Linked DNA regions of Homo sapiens: region 1 is linked to region 2. The links are contacts of gene promoters, found by promoter capture Hi-C in blood cells and fetal thymus (Javierre and others, 2016). All regions are on one chromosome and are shown on one strand. The core of a region is centred on a gene start or on the middle of the fragment in contact, and the rest is flanking DNA. Distances in the headings are between cores, read along the strand shown.

What was found. The method cuts DNA at HindIII sites, captures the fragments that hold promoters and counts their contacts. A CHiCAGO score of 5 or more calls a contact.
Region 1: a fragment that was not itself captured here is called in contact with the fragment with the promoter of CUL3 in region 2 in 1 of 17 cell types (M0 macrophages); the score reaches 5.1 in M0 macrophages.

Annotation. Positions count from the first base shown.
Region 1 is chr2:222,714,155-222,717,304 of GRCh38, forward strand. No RefSeq gene overlaps it. Among named protein-coding and RNA genes, the nearest start is that of MOGAT1, 44 kb to the left of the region's middle. The HindIII fragment of the contact is 709 bases long and covers 1,495-2,203 here.
Region 2 is chr2:224,583,512-224,586,894 of GRCh38, forward strand. It overlaps CUL3 (cullin 3), which reads right to left and starts at 1,852. Exons shown (of 16, transcript NM_003590.5): 1 at 1,433-1,852. The coding sequence starts at 1,498. RefSeq lists silencers at 1,316-1,575, 1,906-2,325. The HindIII fragment of the contact is 1,789 bases long and covers 837-2,625 here.

The DNA.
Region 1 (3,150 bases), core at 599-3,098, 1.9 Mb before region 2:
AAGTTTTAGCACTAGAAGGGACTTCATCATCTGTCTAATTATTCCTTCTGCCGATGAAGCAGTTGAACCCTAGTGAAGTTTCATGCAGATTAAAAGTGACTCCATGTTCCTATTACTCTTCCCTAGATTGAGCAGGAGGTACTCCTAGTCCATGATTGCTGATTAATAAACCTAAAAATCCTCCTATAAAACAGAAGTGTCAAAAAAAAGTAGAGCGTAATTAAAAATCCACTTGAAGCAAGGGATTAAACAGTGCAGAATCAAGCTGTCTTATTGGCATTGAGAACATTTTTCTTTTTGGGGGCCGGTACACCACGTTGTTGATTTTTCCCTTTTGTAAGAGCTATTTTGGTGCTGTGTCTTGGGAAAAGTCCAAGTTTTCAACAACAAGTTTAGCCTCGAGAGCCTTGTGTATTGGAGCAGTGAATAAGGCAAGGTGTCATATGCCCATGACAACTGACAGACCCAGAAAAAAATCTTCCATCAGTCGTGTTGTGATCATTAGAGCAGGCCAGAGCAATCCTATTACTCAGACAGAGGTGGAGGCCGAGCTTCTGTCACCTCATTGATGGTACTAAGCCCAGACTCAATTCTGGCTCCAGCCTCATTCAGCTGAGTTATCACAGCTGCTTTTTTTTTTTTTTTTTTAATAGCTCTTAGATTCTGGTTAAGAATCATCTTAGGCTCTCTTGAGAACAGACATGAACCTGATGTTGCTGGCGTTCCCCAAGCCTGCTTAATTCTCTCCTACTCCATTTCCAGACCAACTTGGAGCCTTAGATCTTTCTGGTTGGATTCCAGACCCTGCAATGTGGGTTTGCAGTGATGTGGGGACAATCAGAGAACTAGAACCTGGTTGCCACATTTTTCTACTCTCCAGCCTTCTGTTTTAGATAGTCCTTCAGCCTCTGATCTTCTAGTAATTGGCTAGGTAACCTGGACTCTGTTCTTTCCTAGGTAAATAGAGTTGGGAGTGAATGATCCTCCAGGTCATTTCTGCCTGTATCTTATGGTCTCTGCCTGGCCTTTTATCTGTCAAGGCAATAACATCTAATTGGAGGTGTAGGTTTACCTGATAACTCTGCCTTTTCCTCCGCCTTTGTCACTTATTTCTGTTCCTCCAAGAAATGCAGTGAGCTGAAATGATTATCTCACTTTCTTGGTGTATGTATGTGTGTATATGTGCATATACACATACATGCACACACATGCACACGTTTTATATATATATAAAACAAATTATATAAATATATATATATATGAAACAAATTGCTACTGGAATTTCTCTAGGATCACAATAATATTTAGTCATGTGTTTCTGAGAAAAAATTTAATTCCCTAAATAAAAATAGGTGGAATTTATCTCAGAAGTTTCCTCCTTTCTATCATTCAAAACTATGGAATAACACTGTTTATTACTTGTTAAAATCTTTATAGGAGACTGTGAAATTTGTATATTTTCTATATGGGATTCGTTGTGGTATGTTTTTTAAAAGCTTTCCATTTGTAAAAGTTTTGACCAATAAATGTGTTTTTATGCCTGAGTGATAATGTATGAGTGTGGCTTTCAACCTGGATAGAATGTTTTTCATCTCCCACACTTTGGCGAGGCTGAATTAATTTAGACTTGAGGATGAATATCGGCGAGGAAACTGGTGTGAAACTGTGAGAATTGCAAATTGTCAGAGTGAGGAGTCAGTACTTTAAATTCTCTTGATGGAATATAAAATACAGCAGAAAGCGGGGGCGGGGTTAACTGACAACTGCAGGTGGACAGGAATGAAAGAAGAACTGGGGCTGGCAGGAGGAAACGAGTCCGCCAACTGCCGTGGTCTCATGTGCCTGGAGAAACAAAGAGGCTCCTCGGATTCAGAAATATTCAAAAACTAGTAGAAAAGATTGAAAATTACAAATCAAGTCAATCACTGCTAATGGGCATGGGGTTTCTTTTGGGGTGATGAAAAATGTTCTAAAATTAATCATGGTCATGGTTGCACAATGCTGCGAATATACTACCCCCCTGAAATTCTCCTTTTTAAGTGGGTAAATTTGATGGTATGTGAATTATATCTCAATAAAGCTGTGGTATAAAATCTAGTCAGTCAGACACTAGCCAAAACAATGGAAGAAGGTAAAAGTGAAATTCCTTTCTGGGTCAAGAATGAAGTTGCCTCCCTTTGGATGTCAGCGCCTTGTAGGACGAAGCTTCTACCTTGATTTGTGAGGCCTGTTTGTGTTCCTGGTGTTCATCATCAAAATCAGTGTTTTCAATACTCTTTTTAAAGTATTTTAGCCAGATACAGTGGCTCACTCCTGTAATCCCAGCACTTTGGGAGGCTGAGGTGGGTGGATCACCTGAGGTCAGCAGTTGGAAACCAGCCTGACCAACAAGGTGAAACCCCGTCTCTACTAAAAATACAAAAATTAGCCAGGCGTGGTGGCAGGTGCCTGTAATCCCAGCTACTCTGGAGCCTAAGACAGGAGAACTGCTGGAACCCAGGAGACGGAGGTTGCAGTGAGCCGAGATCGCACCACTGCACTCCAGCCTGGGTGACGGAGCAAGACGCCATCTTGAAAAAAAAAAAAAAAAAAGAAGAAGTATTTTATTGGATAAAGAACATGCTGTTGTATTACAGTGTAAACTACTGCTTGACTTTAATTTTTCCCAGTATTTTATTAATACTGTAGCATAAAACTAAGTATGCATTATGTTAACATATAAAACAATAGTCAACATTTGCCAATCAATTATCTAAAAGGTGCCAGATACAGGGTTAAATATTTTATGTATGTTGTGATATTTAGCTCTTAAAATATCCCTAGGAGGTTGGTACTGTTTTTATCCTATAGACTGGGGCTCCAAGGGGTTAAAAACTGTGCTTGAAGCAACCCTGATGGCGAGTGGTGGGGCTTAGCACAGTAATGCTGGGTCCTCTGGCCAGACCCCATGCTCTAGATGTAGGACCCGAGAGCCTTGAGGGTATGTGATGCTTGCTGTGAGATTCTGGGTAAGTAACTGCATACCCTTTACCTATCAAAGAAGAGGAAGAGGCTGGGCGTGGTGGCTCACGCTTGTATTCCCAGCACTTCGGGAGGCCGAGGTGGGTGGATTACAAGGTCAAGAGATCGAGACCATCCTGGCCAACATGA
Region 2 (3,383 bases), core at 602-3,101:
TAGTAAGCTTCGTTAGTACTCGCTTGTCAACATTTCTCACGTTTACTTAGAAAAAAGTTTGAAACATTCAAAAAATCTTTAATTATTATCAAAACACTTATTCTCCTAAATTCCATCGTACCTATTTACACAAAGCAGAGGTTTTCGCACACTGACTTTAGTATTTATGTTCTTACAATTTCAGAATTCTGCATGAGGTGTATCCTTTTAAATTTTAGGAATTCAGAGAGGTCCTCATGTTCTCTGAAACTAAATCACTTGACTCAACTGGGGCAATCACATCAAGGTAAGTCTTTCCTCACTGCAACTGCGCTTCAGGAAAAGCATGCTTTAAAAAGTGACAACAAATCCCCCTCTTTCGCTGGTACATCATATGAAGTATTTATGAATCTAAGAAGGGAAGACCAAGATCTTTCTCTAATTTTACTTTTTAAAATCTTCTGTCCGATTGCTAGTTCGTCTGTCTTGACGTATGCCTTTTATTGTAGCGACATAGGCAAGTATGCCCAGTTCGTTAACAGTACATTTTAATTGCTTGCCACGGGGAAGCTGAACCAGATTTGACACCCAAAGTTATATCCTATATACTAAACATCGCAAGGGTACGACTCAACGTAATGCCAAAAAAGAAAAAGTTTCTGAGCAGAACACGTTTGCTGTCACTGAAAGCGATGAAACAAAGCTACTCCGCAAGGCGACTACACTCATTCTTTGGGCTCCCAAGGCTGAGAAATGGAGAACCAATTGGCCGGTTTGCTCTCTGTTGCTTCCCCCCCACCCGGCCTTCCTCCGAGTGGCGAGGCAATCCTGCACAAGAGTTTGTAAAGTGCTTAGGAAGCTTGTAGGATGAAAGACGCTATAAATACACCCAATGTTACTAGTTTATGACCACGGAGCATTCCGTGGAACCACTGTCACTGCGTCGGGGGCAGGTTGATGGCATAGACCTTCCTGGGGAGGGGGGCAGAGAGAGAGGGCAGCCCCTTCATCACCCTAAAAGCTAGGCTGGGTAAATTTTCAAAGTGTAGCGAAACCCCACGTGAAAAGTTCCACACACGCCCCACACAGGGAGGACTCCGCGGCTGCTAGCAGCGCCGGAGACTGGGCCTACAACCCCGGCAACGTGGGGAGGCGTGGGGCGGCCGAGGGGCCCCGGCCGCAGCCGACGCCCGCGGAGCGGCTGAAGGAGCAGCTCCCGGACGGGGGCGCGGCGCCAGGCCCGGGCTCCCGGCGCGGGGAACGGCCCGGGAGGGCGGCCGCGCCGGGGCCCCGCGCCGCCCGGTTGCCGGGAAGGCTCGCGCCCCGCGGCCGGCGGGCGTGGGGGAGGGGAGGCCGGGCCTGCGGCCTGTTGGGGGACTTCAGCCCGGGCCTCGCGTGCGGCTCTCGGCCCGGCCCCCGGCCCCGGGGTCCCGGACGCCGAGGAGAGACTCACCGGAAAGGCCCGGATCCGCATCTTGGTGTCCTTCCGGCTGCCCGTGCCTTTGCTCAGATTCGACATGGTGCTCGTCCCCTCCCCGGCGGCGGCTTCAGGTCGCGCTCCGCGACGCCGGTGTCACATTTAAGGCGGGCAGGCAGGCTAGGGGCGACGCTGGGGGCGGCGGCGGCGCGACCCCCGGGCAGGGCTGGGGAGCTGGCCGGCCCCTGGGCAGCCGCGGCGGCGGCGGGGGCGGCGGCGGCGGCGGCGGCGGCTCGGACTCTGGCGACTCCGATGCGGCTGGGGGGCTGCGCTGGCGCGGCGGCTCCGCGGGGTCCCCCTCACGTCCGGCTCGGCTCCCTTTATCGCGCTCCTCCGCGATGGCGGCGGCGGCGGCGACGGACAAACATCTCACTGCGCAGGCCGAACGTCGTCCTCCTCCTCCTCCTTCTCCTCCTCCGCCTGAGCGAGACGAGATCCGGCCCAGAGGGTGGAGGGGGGAGGAGGGAGGGAGGAGAGCCGGAGAGTGAGAGATGCCGGGGGAGGGAGGTGGGAGGACGGGAGGGGGAGCCCGGCGGCCGCCGCGGGGGACGCTCAGATCTCGCGAGAAGAGGGCGAGCGCGCTGCCCCCCTGGTGGGCGGGGCGAAGCCCGGGAGAGGGTGGGCGCCACCGGAGGGGAGGAGGGGAACAGGGAACTGAAGGAAGTGGGAGGGGCCGGCGGGGCGGGGAAGCGGAAAGGGGGCGTGGCTGAGGGCGGGAGGATTAAGCTGCCTTTTTGAAAGTGGAGCGCCAGGTCCCGGGTTCTGGGTGGAGGTGGTTGCTGATTGGTGGAGCTCGGAGCGGCGGTTGGGAGGGTCCTGGTCACATGGTGGGGAGTGGGAGGGGGGAAGTTCGGAGAGCGGGAGCGGGATGGTAGTGGGCTGGGCCCCACTGGGCTGGGACAGCAGGAGGATAGTCTTGAGGAGGAGCGTGGGGTGCTAGATGTGTAACTACGTCCCGAACTGGTTCCTGTGTTTTTCTAGGGCATGTGGACTAGGGATGGGTACTTGAGTAGAAGCCTGCAACTTGAAGAGTTTGTGCAGGAGTTAGCTGCAGTGTCGGAAATTAGTGTCCTGTATGCTCAACAAGGTATTCGGACTGGGTGTGCACACCACAGCTCTCAGGACTGGAAGGTGGAAATTTAATCTACGAAGTTCCCTTAAACTGCATAAGCTTCGGGACCTCTTGATTCACTGATATTTTCTGGTGGACCCAGGGCTTATTCATGTTAAAACCTGTTTTTCATTACCATCAGAATAAACTGACAGCTCCATTAATGAAATGCAGCATTTGGTAAATAATGTTAAGTGGAATGATAGAAACCTATCTTTAACCTACCGGATAAATCATTTCTACCATTACCAAGAGTATTGTAGATTTTTAAAGCCAAAATTACCGTCTGATTCAGTTGCTGTATATTTGAAAAGGTTTTGGCTTTTGGTTTTGGAGGAGAGGCGTTTGGTCGCTTTATAGTCAAAATGTCTAATTTGACTTATCGGTTTTGCTGTCCATTTGTTATGAATTGTACTTCCTCATTTACCTACTTGCCCAATTGCTGTTATGTTTGGGTTTCTGACTCTGCAAGGGAATACGTGAGTTCTTATTAAAGTTTGTGTTCTTCCTATTTTAAAGAAGCATATGTTTGGGGGATGGATATCTACATTTAGAAGCTGGAATTTTAATACTTTTAAATAGCAAACAATATAAAGTGAAATACACTTATTTGTTGACTGTAAGGTTGAATTTGCCCTAAATTAACTTAATCCTGATGACTAAGCTTATGAGTGTTGTGCTTAAAGCCCCTTCTTGCTTAAAACGCCCCACTGCAAATACCATATTTTCTTGTTTTTTTTTTTTTTTTGTGGGAGTTTTTTGGTATTGGCTAATTAAAGCAGGAGCTTAAGAAACAAGAATGTTGCTTAAGACAAT